Linked DNA regions of Homo sapiens: all the other regions are linked to region 3. Evidence: promoter capture Hi-C in 16 types of primary human blood cells and fetal thymus (Javierre and others, 2016). All regions are on one chromosome and are shown on one strand. Each heading gives the region's core, a stretch centred on a gene start or on the middle of the fragment in contact. The rest is flanking DNA. Distances are from core to core; before and after follow the strand shown.

Region 1 (2,700 bases), core at 196-2,695, 270 kb after region 3:
TTAAAAACATATATGGGTTCATATTAGAAAAGTATCATTGTAGCAGGATGAGCCTCAGACAAGAACCCCTCAGAAACCGAGTTGTAGAAGGAAAGGGCTTTATTCAGCTGGGAGCATCGGTGGATTCACGTCTCCAAAAGCCGAGCTCCCCGAGTGAGCAATTCCTGTCCCTTTTAAGGGCTTACAACTCTAAGGCGGTCCGCGTGAGAGGGTCGTGATCGATTGAGTAAGCAGAGGGTACGTGACTGGGGGCTGCATGCACTGGTAATCAGAACGGAAAGGAAGAGGACAGGGATTTTCACGACGCTTTTCCATACAATGTCTGAAATCTATAGATAACAGAAGAGTTAGGTCGGGGTTGATTTTTAACTCCAGGCCCAGGGTGCAGTGCTGGGCTATCTGCCTGTGGATTCCATTTCTGCCTTTTAGTTTTTACTACTTCTTTCTTTGGATTCAGAAATTGGGCATAAGACAATATGAGGGGTGGTCTCCTCCCTTATCATGTGCTTACTGTAAAAAAATCAGAGTTGGGCACAGTGGCTCACACCTGTAATCCCAGCACTTTGGGAGGCTGAGGCGGGAGAATCACTTGAGCCCAGGAGTGCAAGACCAGCCTGAGCAACACAGTGAGTCCCTATCTCTACAGAAAAAAAAAGAAAAATCAAAAGTTATCCAGGCAAGATGGTGTGCGCCTATGGTCCAGCCTACTCAAGAGGCTGAGGCTGGAGGATGGCTTGAGCCCAGAAGGTCAAGGCTGCAGTGAGCCATGATCGCACCATTGCACTCCAGCCTGTGTGACAGAACGAGACCCTGTCTCAAAAAAAAGAAAGCTTTAAAAGGGTGAATTTTGTATGTGTGATTCATATCTCAGTAAAGCTGTTATTAAAAAAAATAAATAAATAAAAGCAGGCCGCCGGGCATAGTGGCTCACACCTGTAATCCCAGCACTTTGGGAGGCTGAGGTGGGCAGATTACCTGAGGTCAGGAGTTTGAGACCAACCTGGCCAACATGATGAAGCCCCGTATTTACTAAAAATACAAAAATTAGTGGGAATAGTGGTGGGTGCCTGTAATCACAGCTACTCAGGAGGCTGAGGCAGGAGAATCGCTTGAACCTGGGAGGCAGAAGTTGCAGTGGGCCAAGATTGCCCCACTGCACTCCAGCCTGGGCAATAGAGTGAGACTCCATCTCAGAAAAAAAAAAAAAAAAGCTAGAGAGAAGAAAGTAAAATATCCTTTGAGTCACCCAACCCCAGACTGCAAGTAGCCACTCATTCATTCCACAAATACTCTCTGAGGGCCTGTTCTATGCAGGCTATGTGCCAAGGGTTTACACCCTAGGAGCAGTGCCACCCCAGTATCTGTCCCCCGTGACCAGTGACTGCCCCTCCTCTATAATATCTATTGACTGACCTCTCTGACCTCACCTCATTTCTTTCCTCCAGTGCCCCGGCTCCAGCAGTCCATGGATCCTGCCCCCTTTGCATGTCCCTCAGCCTGCCTGCCCTCCGTGTCCTTCCTGCCCAGCCTACAATTCATGGTCAGGCCCCACCCCCACCCCCTCCTGCGGTCCTGACAAAACCCCAACACTGGTCAGTCCCACTGCTCCACCTCCACCGCATCTCACCTGCACTTGCGCAGCTCAATGTCACACCACCTTGCCAGCTGCTTCCCTTTCAACTCATGACACAAAACCCAAGAGGGCCCTTAGTGGATGTCAGGATCAGTCACTGTCCCCATGACCCTTGCACCCCTCTTTTCTCCTCTCTATAAAATAAGGGTGATAATATTTCTGTCTCCCGGGGCTGTTGGCAGCATCAGTAGTAGGTCCTTGCTCGGGGGCAGCTACTGGGGTTAGTTCCTCTGGTGCTCAGTCCAAGAGTTCCCTGGTGTCTTGGTGTCCGCGGAGTCCCACCCTGCGGTCATTTATTTTGTTCCGCTGGTTGGGCAGGCCTGGGCTCTCTGCCAGATCTGATCATCCTCCCAGAGACAGGAGGGAACGGAATGTGGCACCAGGCAGTAAGACGCATGGCTGAGCTCAGCAGGAGAGGGAAGCTTCCAACTTCCTGCAGCGAATGTCCTAGGTGATAGGTCAAGTCTGACCCCGCCAGTGAGGCCAACATGGAAACTTACTAGGGCCTCGAAAAGGTGTGTGTGGGAGTTCAGAGAGGAGTGGAGACAGCCGGCCTCCCAATCTGGACCCACAGGGCAGGGCAGGGAGAGGAGATGGCCCCGCCTCCAGGAATCCAGGCTGCACCTCCCTCCAGGGAACTCAGATCAAAGCCAGGAGGAAGGAGGAGTGTGAACTTTGCACCCAGTGACTCACTGCATCCCCCTAGGGCAAGTGCTCTCACCCGTGCAGAATCCTGCCCTCCTTGCCACTGACGGGACCATCCGCACTGGGTCAGCCTATGAGCAACACTGACCTGATTCACCTGCACGCCTTCATTCCCCCACCTTCATCCTCCTCCTCGCAGAGGTGATCAGATGTTTGCAGGTGCCTGCCTGTGTTTACAAGTAGGTCTTGGAAGATAAGAGAGGCGGTGGGAGGGGTGGGAAAGCCCTGTTCTGGCAGTCAGGACACCCAGGGCTTGGCCACTAACCAGCTGTGTGAGCTCGGCCGGTCTCACACCCTCTCTGGGCCCGGCCACCACCTCTGTGGTTATGGGCAGTTGGACTCTATGGCAAGTTCATCTGCCC
Region 2 (2,700 bases), core at 99-2,598, 280 kb before region 3:
TTTCTTTCTTTCTTTCTTTCTTTCTTTCTTTCTTTCTTTTTTTTTTTTTTTTTGCAGTTTCTCACTCTGTCATCCAGGCTGGAGTGCAGTAGCACAGTCTCGGCTCTCTGCAATCTCCATCCCCTGGGTTTAAGCGATTCTCCTGCCTCAGCTTCCTGAGTAGCTGGGATTACAGGTGTGCGCCACCACGCCCGCTAATTTTTTTTTTTTTTTTTTTTTTTTTGTAATTTTAGTAGAGACGGGGTTTCACCGATGTTGCCCAGGCTGATCTCAAACTCCTGGTCTCAAGCGATACCCTGCCCCACCCCAGGCTTGAGCCACCGTGCCCAGCCTCCTTTTCTATTTTTAAATCAAAGACTTTTCCATAGAAATTTGTCGATTTTCTTAGTGTCTTTGCTAAAGATGTAAATCTGAACCAGCAGCTTCTCTGTGGTAGAAAATTGGAGAGCTACTTTGCATATCAATTTGCTAATAAAGAGTCATGAAATTAATGCAGTAAAACATCCTGGTGGCTCATCATTATGCTTCTTGGCATAATATGTTGCACTGTTATGCTAAATCATCATCAGGTATTGATGCAACTTCATGACATCCATGACATCATTTGCTCTCCAGATTTTGACCTTTGCAATTCCTTACCTTAGTTACAAAAAGAACAGGATCAGAAAAAAAATAGCTTAGGATGCTTCTTCTTGTCTGATTTCTAGAGGGGTCTTTAATAACAGCTTTATGTGGTTTAAACCCTGAGTAAGATTCAGAGCAGGGTGAGTCCTACCTATTATGGAGAGCAAGCAAAGAAAATGCTAACAAAACGTCTGAGTTTTATGAGAACACTGAGGTCCCAGGGAGAAGCTATCTCAAAGATGAACAAATACGTAATTATCTTTGTGATTTCAGAATTGTTTTAGTCAATGAATTAACTCTTTTTGTTTGTTTTTTGAGACATAGTTTTGCTCTTGTTTCCCAGGCTGGAGTGCAATGATCTCGGCTCACTGCAACCTCCACCTCTCCGGTTCAGGCGATTCTCCTGCCTCAGCTTCCTGAGTAACTGGGATTGCAGGTGCCTGCCATCATGCCCAGCTAATTTTTTGTATTTTTAGTAGAGACAAGGTTTCACTATGTTGGCCAGGCTGGTCTTGAACTCCTGACCGCAGGCGATCCACCTGCCTTGGCCTCCCAAAGTGCTGGGATTACAGGCTTGAGCCACTGCGCCCGGCCCTGAATTAACTCTTTATAAAACCAGAAGCCATTTGATTAAATAAAGCCCTTCCCACGATTGTTAATGTGGATCAGAAAAGATAGTGTTCGTGAAAGTGCTTTGTAAAATGTAAAATAAAAGGTAAATGTAAAATTGATTATTCCTATTTATGAACCACCTACTGAGGGCCCTCCATATGGCGGGTGTTTTGGGAAGTAGGTACTAATTTAAGACAGCTTTTGGTCTGAAGTTGCATATAGTATGGCTGGGGAGCCAGACAAGGAAACCCGTTAAGTGCTATGTAGTGTTAAGAAGTGCACTGAATCCAACCAAGAGAGTCAAGGAAGGCTTCTTGGAGCAGGGATGGCTTTTCCCCAACCTTTCCTATTATTCTGCAGAGTCTGCCTTTAGTGAGTGACTTGCTTTTTATAAAAACTTGAAAAAAAATTCTGTCATGGGTTCTTTTCCCCTTTTATTCATTCACTGTCATGACAGTTCCCACACAGTATGCCCCAGTTATGGCTTCTGCATTCTCAAAAATCCAGCAGTCTTGGGAAAACCTTTCTATATGAGTCATATACACAGGCAACAAACACAAACATTGCAGCTGCAATTAAAATATCTCAGATTACTAAGTGGTGACAACTTTAGAGTGATGATGCTTTTTTGTTTTTGTTTTGTAAACTAGTACAAGAGGCACTGTGTTTTTAATTTGATGACAATTAATACAGTAAATATTTAATTGTTATTCCTTACAATGTTGATTATAGGTGGTTATTAGTACTGTCTCCTTTTTCCCAACAATAAATAAAATGAGAAGATCTTAATTCCTTTTTGATTGAAGCTGACCGCTTAAGTGAGAATTACACTAAACTTTCTTTTTCTTTTTTATTTTTTTGAGACCAAGTCTTGCTCTATCGCCTAGGCTGGAGTGCAGTGGCGCAATCTCTGCTCACTGTAACCTCTACCTCCCGGGTTCCAGCGATTCTCCTGCCTCAGCCTCCCGAGTAGCTGGGAGTACAGGCACCCGCCCCACGCCCGGCTAATTTTTGTAGTTTTTTTTTAGTAGAGGTGGGATTTCACCATATTGGCCAGGCTGGTCTCGAACTCCTGACCATGTGATCCGCCCACCTTTGCCTCCCAAAGTGCTGGGATTACAGGCTTCAGCCACCGCTCCCGACGAATTACACTAAACTTTTATAGAATCTATGTGGATTGGTGTTGCTAGTAGCTTTGATATTGAACTTCTGTATCCCAGTACAAGTTATTTACCTTAGTGCTGTAGTTGTTGTACAATTAATTTAGCGTGTTGTTGCCTATATTGCAAAAACTTCGAATTTTTGGATTGAGTGAAATTTTTATGTGGCACTGTATTATTGAACATATACCATCTGTATCTTAACTGAAAATGAGTGATCTAAAGTTGCGGCTGATGGAAAAGTGAAGGTGATGTGTTCAGTTTTCTATAATGTGACAGCTTGCTACATGTACAAGGATATGAC
Region 3 (2,700 bases), core at 123-2,622:
AATTTTTGTATTTTTAGTAGAGACGGGGTTTCACCATGTTGGCTAGGCTGGTCTCAAACTCCTGACCTCAGGTGATCCGCCCACCTCGGCCTCCCAAAGTGGTGTGATTACAGGCATGAACTACTGTGCCAAGCCCACACCCAGCTAATTTTTTATATTTTTGGTAGAGACGGAGTTTCACCATATTGGCCAGGCTGGTCTCGAACTCCTGACCTCAAGTGATCTGCCTGCCTTGGCCTCCCAAAGTGCTGGGATTACAGGCGTGGGCCACCGCGCCTGGCCCCTCCTTATTCATTCTTCAAAACATTTCTCTGCTGCCACCAGTGAACCTGGCTGCCTCAACTGGAAAACAGACACAAGAGTGCCTGCCCTGCCTGATGCACAGGTGGGCATGAAGGAGAGAGCGAGATGCTATGTGTGAGTGAGGGTCTCAGACACTGACATTGAGTGCTGTGTGCATGGGAAATTTTGCTAAAGGATCTTCACACCTCAGGAGCTGGGATGTGTGTGTGTGTGTGTGTGTGTAAATGCAAGCGTGCTTCAATGTGAGTGTATAACTGTCATTGTGTGGGTGTGAGTGGGTATGTACACATGGGAGACTGTGTATTCATGTGTAGGTATGTGAGTGTGTGTGCGTGTATGTAAATGCAAGTGTGCATATATATGTGTGTGTATGACCATCAGTGTGTGAATGAGGGGTATGTACACATGGGAGAGTGTGTGTGTAGGTACGTGCGAGTAAGTGTGAATGACTACAGAGGCCGTCCAGGGCTGGGGAAAAAAACCTGTGCCTCAGTTTACTCTGCCCTAGACAAGCCCTGAGAGGCAGCCTTGCCCCCCTCTTCAACCATCGCTGGAGACCCTTCATCCCGCCGCCAGGCCACCAGCGCACTATCTACCCGCACTCTCTCTACCCCACCTCTGGGCATATATTATTTTGCATATGTTAATTTCAATAGCTCTGAATGAGGCGCTGACAGTCAAAAGTCGCTGAACTCACAGCTTAGGGCTCTCAGGCAAGGCCTCTAACTTCTGCGAGCCTCACTTTCATCCTCTAAAAATAGGCCCAATGGAACTGTTGTTCTTGCGCGCACCCCTCCTCGCTCCCAAGCCTTCGTGCCCAGTCGTCGTTGGTGTGGTTAAATTCATGTTGTTTACTTTGTGCCCCAAATGCCAGGAGTCTCCCCGCCCCCTCTGTCCCCTTCCCTGACCTTCAGCCCGGGCAACCCCAGGAGGTGGGGGAGCCCCGAAGGGACAGAGATGGCCCTCCCGCGCGCTGCGGCCACAGGTGTGCCCGAGCCTCCCGGCTGCGCTCCCCCGGGCCCCGCCCGCCGCGCCCCGCGGTGTCGCCCTCCCCTGGCAGCGGCGGGCACTGCGCGGGAGGCGGCGGCGCGAGGCGAGCCGGGCGCGGCGGCAGCAGGGACGACCCAGGCTGGAGCTGAGGCCGAGCTGAGGGCGCCCGAGCCCCCCGCCCCGCCCGTCCTCTGGCTCCGCAGCGCTCAGCCCCGGGCCCGCGGAGACATGAACGCCCCGCGGCCCCACGCACCCCGGGCGCAGCGGCCCGGCCCCGCGGCCCCGTGATGGGCTCCTGCGTGTCGCGAGGTGAGGGGGCCCGGCCGGGGGCGGGGGGATCGGGTGCCGGGGACCCGCGCAGTCCCCTCGCCGCTCGGAGACCTGGGGGATGGGGCTGGCGACCCGCCCTTCACGGCCCCGCCGCACCCCTGGGGACGCGGCGTCCTGAGGGGGACAGAGCTAGGGACGGTAGGGGGCGGGGGCAGCGCAGAGAGCGCACGTGCAGAGGTCACCGCATCCCCGCCCCAGTTTGCAGCCCCGCAGGTGACACGAAGCAGGGTCCCGTGCCGTGCCGCGCTCTCATCCCTACAGCCACACACCCCCTGCCGGGTGCCTGGGAACCAGCTCTGGTTCTTCCTGGCTTCCCGGAGGAACTGCGGGCACCGGGAGAACTAGCAGACCCTCCCTTTCCCACCCCTCCCCAAGACACAGGTCTTACCAGCTCACCCCCACAGCCCCTTCCCACGTCTTACCGGGTGCCCCCATCTGCAGAGCCCCTGAACCCTGTTGGCAGGAAAGGGTTAATGGTGGGGCACAGGTTATAAAGAAGGTTCCCCTGCCCCCTAATCCTCCTCCCCACCCCCATCCTTGGACAGGGGACAGAAGGGCCAGAGCACAGCTGATGTTCCCAGTTACCCCTGGGCCTTTCTCTCTGTGTCTGACCTGTCACCCTCCACTCTCCCCCACGTGGTACCCAAGGAGGTGGAGGGGACCTGCCCTTGCCTGGGGGCCCAGGGCAGGCCCCAGCCTCTTCTATCTGTGAGGAGGGGACACACAGTCTTGCACAGAGATTGGGGGATGGGCAGTTTGGTCTTTGGAGCCCCCTACCTCCACCCCCACCCATCACCACCAGCTTTCCAACAGGCTGTTGGGCAACATTTTAGACAAGCGATTGGGCTGAGCCCTTCTCCCACCTTGGTCTGTTCACCCCACAGTGGGATCAGGGGGGTGTGACTGGGAGTGGGGGTGGCTTTGGCCTTGGTTCAGGCTCTGCAGGCTGAGGCCAAACCCACTGACCACCACCACACCCATCACCCCTAGTAGCTTACCCAGAATAGAGGGGACCTTGTCCTGGGGGTATTGAGCAAGGAGCACAATGACCTTCCCCCATCCTCTGGACTCGAAGGG
Region 4 (2,700 bases), core at 79-2,578, 360 kb before region 3:
CTTGAGTGTATACATAGGAGTGAAACTGCTGAGTTATACAATAATGCTATGTTTAGTGGTTTTGTTTTGTTTTGTTTTGTTTGAAACAGCATCTCACTCTGTTGCCCAGGCTGGAAAGCACTGGCATGATCATGGCTCACTGCAGCCTCAACCTCCCAGGCTCAAGTGATCCTCCCAACTCAGCCTCCCAAGTAGCTGGGACTACAGGTGTGAACCACCATGTCCGGCCTTGCTCACCTTTTTGAGGAGCCTCCAAACTGTCTTCCACAGCAGCAGCACCATTTACGTTCACAAGGGTTTCAATTTCTTCACATTTTTGCAAATATTGGTTATTTTTCTTTTCTTTTCTTTTCTTTTTCTTTTCTTTTTTTTTTTTTTTTTAGACAGGGTCTCTCTCTTTCTTTCTCTCTCTGTCACCCCACACTGGAGTGCAATGGTGCGATCATCACTCACTGCAGCCTCAAATTCCCGGGCTCAAGGGATCCTCCTGCCTCAACCTTTTGAGTAGCTGGGCCTACAGGCACACACCACCCTACCCTGCTATTTTTCTTACTTTTTGTAGAGACGGGGGTCTTGCTATGTTGCCCAGGCTGGTCTTGAATTCCTGTCTTCAAGAGATCCTCCTGCCTCAGCCTTCCAAAGTGCTAGGATTATAGGCATGAGCCACCATACCTGGCCTTATTTTCCAATTTTTTTTTTTTTGAGACTAAGTCTCACTCTACCACCCAGGCTGGAAGACAGTGGCATGATCTCAGCTCACTGCAACTTCTGCCTCCCAGGTTCAAGTGATTCTCGTGCCTCAGCCTCCTAAGTAGCTGGGATTACAGGCATGCGCCACCATGCCTGGCTAATTTTTGTATTTTTAGTAGAGACGGGGTTTCACCATGTTGGCCAGGCTGGTCTATAACTCGACCTCAAGTGATCCACCCACCTCGGCCTCCCAAAGTGCTGGGATTACAGGTGTGAGCCACCGCACCCAGCCATTCAGAGCACTTTCAGTTCTGTTCAGTCTAACAAAGACAGGCATCGAGCACATACCCTATGCCAGGTGCTGAGTACTGGGGTCACTGGGATGTGGCCAATCCAGCTCCTACCATCCTGGAGCTCGCAGACTGGAGGAGACAGAGAGAAAAGCAGTCATTGGCAAAGCAGAATGAAAGGTACTGTAATGAAGCAAATTCACAGGGGCCTGTGGGAGCAAAGAGAAGAAACCCCACACAGTCTGGGGAGAGTCAGGGAAGGCTTTCTGGGAGAGAGTACCCTGGCCCAATAATCACTGTGAGGTTGGCAAGGCAACGATTGTTATCTTCATTGTGTAATGGGGGCCACTGAACCAGTGACAAGCTGGGGGAAATGACACTGTCCAGTAGTTGGAGGTCACACAGCCCCTTGCCTTATTCTCAAACCCTAACCACATGGCTGGATATTCCTGAAATGCATTCCTAAACCTCTGCTGCTGAGAATAATTGGACCTGCCATCTATTCCCAGTTTAACTGCCCTGTATACCAAACAAATCCAATTCAAGCCAACAGGCAAAGTATAGGCTCAGACAGAGCCCATCCTATGTGCAAGGCGGTGAGCAGGGGTGGAAAATCTCACTGTGACTCATCCAGCTGATTTCTGGTAGGTGCAGGGCCAAGGTGGGGTGTAAGGTGAACAAGCTTTCCCTGACGGCCTCCAGACATATATATGATATGCCACTTATCTTTATCTGCTGTATTTTCCTGCCATCATAGATATTTCCAAGAGAAATTCTCCCATTTTTCAGATGAGGAAACCACTTATAAAAGGGGCACTCAATACCCAAAGAATTTTGAAAAAGAACAAAGTTGGAGGACTCACACTTCCTGATTTCAAAACTTTTTATTTATTTATTTATTTATTTGTTTTTCCATAGGTTATTGGGGTACAGGTGGTATTTGGCTACATGACTAAGGTTTTTGTTTTTTGGTGTTTTTTTTTTGTTTACATTAGTAATTTTTTTTGAGACGGAGTCTTGCTCTGTTGCCCAGGCTGGCGTGTAGTGGTGCAGTCTCTGCTCACTGCAACCTCCATCTCCCAGGTTCAAGCGATTCTCCTGCCTCAGCCTCCCAAGTACCTAGGATTACAGGCAGGCACCACCATGCCCAGCTAATTTTTGTATTTTTAGTAGAAACAGGATTTCACCATGTTAGCCAGGGTGATCTCAAACTCCTGACCTCGAGTGATCTGCCCCCCTTGGCATCCCAAAGTTCTGGGATTACAGGCGTGAGCCACCTTGCCCTGCATGAGTAGGTTCTTTAGTGGTGATTTGTAAGATTTTGGTCCACCCATCACCTGAGCAGTATACACTGCACCCTATCTGTATTTTTTTTTTTTTTTTTTGAGACAGAGTCTCACCCTGTCATCTAGGCTGGAGTGCAATGGTGCGATCTCGGCTCACTGCAACCCTCCACCTGCCAGGTTCAAGCAATTCTCCTGCCTCAGCCTCCTGACTAGCTGGGATTACAGGCATGTGCCACCATGCCCGGCTAATTCTGTACTTTTAGTAGAGACGGGGTTTCTCCATGTTGGTCAGGCTGGTCTCAAACTCCCAACCTCAGGTGATCTGCCCGCCTCGGCCTCCCAAAGTGCTGGGATTACAGGCACGCACCACCACACTCAGCTAATTTTTTGTATCTTTAGTAGAGATGGGGTTTCACCTTGCTGGCCAGGCTGGT
Region 5 (2,700 bases), core at 89-2,588, 290 kb after region 3:
CTGGGATTACAGGCATGAGCCACCACATCCGGCCTAAAAGGCACTTTTTTTTTTTTGAGACGGAGTTTCCCTCTTGTTGCCCAGGCTGGAATGCAATGGTGCAATCTCACTGCAACCTCTGCCTTCCAGATTGAAGCAATTCTCCTGCCTCAGCTTTCCCCAGTAGCTGGGATTACAGGCACCTGCTACCATGCCTGGCTAATTTTTGTATTTTTAGTAGAGACAGGGTTTCACCATGTTGGCCAGGCTGGTCTTGAACTCCTGACCTCAGGTGATCCACCCACCTTGGCCTCCCAAAGTGCTGGGATTACAAGCGTGAGCCACCATGCCCAGCCTCTAAAAGGCACTTTTTAAGGGACCTTGGAGTTTGTCCTCAAACAGCTCAACCCCACAGGCGAGGCTGGTCCTAGCACCCCTACCAGACAGCTAGTCAGTGAGAGGGGTCCAACCTCCCCCAGCTTTTCCCTGGAAGTGGGGCAGGGTCAGCAGGGAATTCTGGGGGTGAAGCTCATGGTCCAGGAGCCTTCTGGTGCCCAGAGGGTAGAGGAGTGGAAGGCCTGGGGGTGCTCAGCCCCACTGTATCCTGGACAGGCTGGGCCGGCTTGCAGGCTGGTCTCCATGGAGGCTCAGAAGGAAAGTGTGCAAGAGCAGGTTAGGAAGGGAAACCAAGTCAGGGAAGGGCCCCAGCCGGGGCTAGTGGTCTGTTCACTGCCCAGCGGGCACTCTCAGCAGCACCCCGCAGCACTCCGCTTCACATGGCATGGCTTGCAGAAGAGATGGTTGTTCAGGGGGTAGCAGCCTTGGTCCGTGGGCTCGACAGACAGGAGGATCCTGCAGTCCTGGGGAGACAAAGACACATGCTGACCCGCCCTGGGCCTGGGCGCTGCCTGCACAGGGGAGGGACTCACTTGGCATCTGCCGAATAAACCAACTGCATGAGTGGATGCCCTTCCTAAGTGGGAGGAAGGAGGCTGCTCACTGCTGCCCTCCCAACACCCGGGCCAGGTCTCCATAAGGGAAGATGAGACACAGACACACATGGAGGCTTTAATCCACGTGGAGGCGCCGGTGAGGACAGACATTCACCGTCAGGAGAACTAAGGACACCTGGGGAAGTCCCCTGAGGGTTCAGGGAAAGTTGGGGCTAGAAGAGTCTTAATAGCTCCTTTATTATTTTTTAAAATTTGTTTTTATCATTTATTTATTTTGAGACAGTCTTGCTCTGTCGCCCAGGCTGGAGTGCAGTGGCACGATCTTGGCTCACTGCAACCTCTGCTTCCCGGGTTCAAGCGATTCTCCTGCCTCCCAGGTAGCTGGGATTACAGGCGTGTGCCACCACACCCAGCTAATTTTTGTATTTTTAGTAGACAGGGTTTTGCCATGTTGGTCAGGCTGGTCTCGATCTCCTGACCTCAAGTGATCCGCCCACCTTGGCTTCCCATGCTGGGATTACAGGTGTGAGCCAGTGCGCCCGGCTTCAATAACCCCTTTAGAACATAAATTCTGGGCGGGCGCGGTGGTTCACGCCTATAATCCCAGCACTTTGGGAGGCTGAGGCGGGCGGATCACAGGGTCAGGAGATAGAGACCATCCTGGCTAACACGGTGAAACCCCATCTCTACTAAAAATACAAAAAACTAGCCGGGCGTGGTGGCGGGCGCCTGTACTCCCAGCTATGTGGGAGGCTGAGGCAGGAGGCAGGAGAATGGCGTGAACCCGGGAGGCAGAGCTTGCAGTGAGCCGAGATCGTGCCACTACACTCCAGCCCGGGTGACAGAGCGAGACTCCATCTCAAAAAAAAAAAAAAAAAAAAAAAAGAACGTAAGTTCTACGAGACAGGAACCCTGTTTAAGGCCAAGTCCCCATCCCAGCACAGGCCATGGGTATCTGCTGATGAGTGCCTGAATCTAGTCCAGTCCCTTCATTTCACAGGTGGGATACCAAGGTCCAGGGAGGAGTGGGCTCTGCCCCAGGTCACACAGCTGGTTCTGGAGCTGGGACCAGACTGGGTCTCCAGGATCTGGCTCCAGGGGCCTTTCTGTGACTCCACAGCCCACACAGCTTCAACACCAGCACAAACATTAATATTTTCTATTTTTCAAATCACCAAAGGATTTCAGAATGAGGAACACAGGGACTCGGGGCCCAAATTCTACCAACGTCACTGTTCTGCCCCAGAAACCTCACCTGGGCACATGCTAGAGAATAACAGGGGGGACAATTTGCGCGCAGAGACTTGGTTCTGGGCACCCTTTGGAAGCTGCACTGATCCCACAAAAGAGTCCTTATAGGGGGCCAGGCGCAGTGGCTCACGCCTGTAAGCCCAGCACTTTGGGAGGCTGAGGCGGGCGGATCATGAGGTCAGGAGTTTGCGACCAGCCTGGCCAACATGGTGAAACCCCGTCTCTACTAAAAATATAAAAATTAGCCGGGCGTGGTGGTGGGTGCCTGTAATCCCAGCTACTCATGAGGCTGAGACAGAATTGTTTGAACCCGGGAGGAGGTTGCTGAGATCGCGCCACTGCACTCCAGCCTGGGAGACAGGGCAAGACTCCGTCTCAAAAAAAAAAAAAAAAGAGTCCCTATAGGGACTACTTTGGGGTCACAGGTGGCCCTCCTTATGCAGTAGGGACCAGGGTCTGCAATCTGCCTTCCTCCATGGCCAGCTGGGTGAGGCACCCCTGTGTGTCTCCTCCCTAC
Region 6 (2,700 bases), core at 54-2,553, 310 kb before region 3:
GCACTAAAATGGAAACCTCTCGCTCCAGCTTGGAACACAGTTGGTGCCAAAGAATGCTGAATGACTGAATGGAAAAGGTACACCAATAATAAGAGAACGACCTGGATGTTTTCTGTGAACTGACAAACACAGACACTCACACAGAATCTATGTCCACTACGTACTCTGTCCTGAAAATGACTGTATTGATGGAATTGTATTAATTCTATTAATACCAGTGTTATTACCTGAGTAAGTACTACAGCTCATATTAGTCTATTGCCTATTACCTTTTAAGGGCTTCTCACAAGTAACTTCTTGTTTTAAAGTTTCATACTGTATCATTTCGCTCCACTCTAAATACAAGACTGCCTATTCGAGTTTCTCCATCATAAACAGAGCCTTGACAGCTGTAGAATTTAGAAGCCTTTGAGGGTTGAGACCAAATGCCTTCATAGACCAGGCAAGCAGCCAAACTCCACTCGCACGGAGCATACCTGGGGAAGTGAAGGGGCTGCAGGGCACCAAAGAGCACTTGCCCTGCCTAATGACGGCCAACAAGCTTTGGCAGACAGGGCCAGATCTAGCGCAGAAGAAACCAAATCAGTATTTTTATGGCAATGCACTGAATTTTCCAACTTCACTATGTGAACTTTCACTTTCATATCGCTGCGAGAGCCAAATAAGACAGAGAGAGAAATGGGCCTCACACATTAGAGTGAATTTGAGAAGTCCCATCCAGGTCTCCTCTGAGGAAAGCAAACTGCTTCCTTCTTCCTCTAGGGTTTAAGGAAGATGGACCATCTGCCCAGTTCCAGCACAAGGAGCCTGGGTGGAAGAAAAGCGCTTCAAGAGGACATCGTAGGCCATGTCTGAGTAAATGCGCCTCTGTCCCCAAACTAGAACATGATTAACATACTTGGCATGTAATATAATACTAATAGCTTTTAAAATAATACCTTATATCGATATAATGTATTATGGCTGTCAACATTCTTCCCCAGACATTCATTTTCTGCTCACACCAGCCCTGTTTGGCAGACAAAGTAGCTTTTATCCTTCTGTCAGATGAGGGTTAGGGAACTTACCCAAGGTCACAAGGTAGTAAACCACAGAGACAGCCCTAGAATTCGCCTTTTGAGGCCCCTATGCTGACATACCACCCTCCCCCGACAATTGCTCAAATCCCCTGGAAATGCCAGTATAAACCATTAGATATTGGTCATCTCCCCCAATTCCACACTGCTCCCTGGCATGCCAAGAACTACAACTCTCATCCAACTCCACTGTGAAAGGCAGAAGAGCTTTATCAGAGCTGGAGAGGGATTCTTCCATAAGATTACAGAATGGGATGGAAACCCAAGCAGCTTTGGTGGAAAGTGGATCCTGGTCATCTTTAGATGGCCAGCTGGACGCCAGCATGCTCAGAGGCGCCCAAGCAGGAGAAGGAATGCTCTGCCAGCAGCTGGAGAGGGCATCGCATCTCCCTCTGGAGTCTGTCCAGGTATCATGAGTCAGTCTATTCTCTTCTCAGACAAGGCCTTGCAATCAATCTGCTCTCAGACTCATGCTCTGAAAAGCTGGACCAAGTCAAAACTTTCCTACAGGGTGTATTACAAGGAAAATGTGCATCTCCCCCAGAGATGCAATAGCCCAATGGAATTAAACAGGCCTCAGAACTTGTGTGGGGAAGCATCTAGATGCAGGCCTGAAATAAGGAATCGTACTACCTAAGGGAACCCTCTCTTTAGACAAGGATGCAGAGTCCTGCCCAAGGTCTAGGCTCCTGTGTTAGAGGCCTGACCTCCATCGCTAGTCAAAGAAAACCATCGCTGTGACTGCTGTGAGTGGGCACAAGGCAAGTGCTAGGGCACAAGCATACCACACAGGGCGGTGGCCAGGAAAGTGATCTCCTATGGCTCCTGCTCCTGGAAAGGCTCTTCAGCCAAGTAGCACCAAGCAGCCCACAGAAGGTGACATTCTGTGTTCCGGGTCCAAATCCTAAGCAAAAGATCTACTGTTGCCAAACCTTGACATCACTTGTCCTATGAGGCTACACATCTACAGAAATGGGACACAAGCTTCTCGGTCTCAGAGAACAAGCAAAGCCAGAAGGAAAGAGCGGAGGCAGGAAATCATGAAGAAGCACAGTGGGGAGGAAGGTGGTTCTCGACAGGGCTGGTCCTTTATGGGAGGTAAAGGAGAGCCACAACCACAAGGTGAATGGGATCAGATGTCAACATTTGCAATTTTAACTCACCAGAGGAGGAAGCTCAGCTTCACTGGCTGCTGATGCCCTTAACCTTGCTATAAATGTGCCTCTGGCTGAAAAGTTAGGGTATGGGACCTAGGAGTACAATGCGGATAAGATCATTCCCAAGGAGGAGAGCAGGGAAGGGGTCACCTCAAACAACCCAGTTTGTTACTGTCACAAGCTACAAAAGGAACAAAGGTGACAAAAGATAGGGATGTGTCTGTAAGGTGAAGCAGATTACAGTGGTAGGTTTACTCCTGTAACGTTAAGAGGTCGATGACAAGGAAAAAAGAAAGGTGAGAAAGGCAGAGGAGAGGAAGAAATAGGCTATTCTGGGTCTTAGTGTAAAGCACAGCAAGTATAAGCACCATTACAGTTGTACCTTCTCAGGTACGAATGTTTACACAACAGCCTGGGGTGATGATGCCCTGGGGGACTGATTCGAACTAGCCAAGCTCACAAGAGAC

Evidence for each region. Contacts are between HindIII fragments. The CHiCAGO score rates a contact against its expected background, and 5 or more counts as called.
Region 1: a contact is called between a fragment that was not itself captured here and the fragment with the promoter of FAM131C in region 3, in 1 of 17 cell types (activated CD4 T cells). The highest score is 7.9, in activated CD4 T cells.
Region 2: a contact is called between a fragment that was not itself captured here and the fragment with the promoter of FAM131C in region 3, in 3 of 17 cell types (endothelial precursors, naive CD4 T cells and fetal thymus). The highest score is 6.3, in endothelial precursors.
Region 4: a contact is called between the fragment with the promoter of SPATA21 here and the fragment with the promoter of FAM131C in region 3, in 2 of 17 cell types (erythroblasts and endothelial precursors). The highest score is 5.5, in erythroblasts.
Region 5: a fragment that was not itself captured here is called in contact with the fragment with the promoter of FAM131C in region 3 in 1 of 17 cell types (activated CD4 T cells); the score reaches 8.9 in activated CD4 T cells.
Region 6: a fragment that was not itself captured here is called in contact with the fragment with the promoter of FAM131C in region 3 in 1 of 17 cell types (endothelial precursors); the score reaches 7.1 in endothelial precursors.

What each region holds. Positions count from the first base shown.
Region 1 is chr1:15,799,922-15,802,621 of GRCh38, reverse strand. No RefSeq gene overlaps it. Among named protein-coding and RNA genes, the nearest start is that of UQCRHL, 6.4 kb to the left of the region's middle. RefSeq lists an enhancer at 2,094-2,388. The HindIII fragment of the contact is 1,225 bases long and covers 833-2,057 here.
Region 2 is chr1:16,348,097-16,350,796 of GRCh38, reverse strand. The region is part of intron 1 of FBXO42 (F-box protein 42); the gene reads left to right. Among named protein-coding and RNA genes, the nearest start is that of FBXO42, 3.0 kb to the left of the region's middle. The HindIII fragment of the contact is 2,783 bases long and covers 1-2,700 here.
Region 3 is chr1:16,072,323-16,075,022 of GRCh38, reverse strand. It overlaps FAM131C (family with sequence similarity 131 member C), which reads left to right and starts at 1,372. Exons shown (of 7, transcript NM_182623.3): 1 at 1,372-1,602. The coding sequence starts at 1,581. RefSeq lists an enhancer at 610-1,109 and a silencer at 1,318-1,477. The HindIII fragment of the contact is 12,659 bases long and covers 1-2,700 here.
Region 4 is chr1:16,436,052-16,438,751 of GRCh38, reverse strand. It overlaps SPATA21 (spermatogenesis associated 21), which reads left to right and starts at 1,328. Exons shown (of 13, transcript NM_198546.1): 1 at 1,328-1,624. RefSeq lists a silencer at 428-598. The HindIII fragment of the contact is 2,188 bases long and covers 1-1,664 here.
Region 5 is chr1:15,782,687-15,785,386 of GRCh38, reverse strand. It overlaps FBLIM1 (filamin binding LIM protein 1), which reads right to left. Exons shown (of 9, transcript NM_017556.4): 9 at 1-839. The coding sequence ends at 726. Among named protein-coding and RNA genes, the nearest start is that of UQCRHL, 24 kb to the left of the region's middle. The HindIII fragment of the contact is 6,840 bases long and covers 1-2,700 here.
Region 6 is chr1:16,385,364-16,388,063 of GRCh38, reverse strand. All of the region lies in intron 1 of SZRD1 (SUZ RNA binding domain containing 1), which reads right to left. Among named protein-coding and RNA genes, the nearest start is that of SZRD1, 19 kb to the right of the region's middle. RefSeq lists enhancers at 1,482-1,982, 1,983-2,483. The HindIII fragment of the contact is 1,519 bases long and covers 544-2,062 here.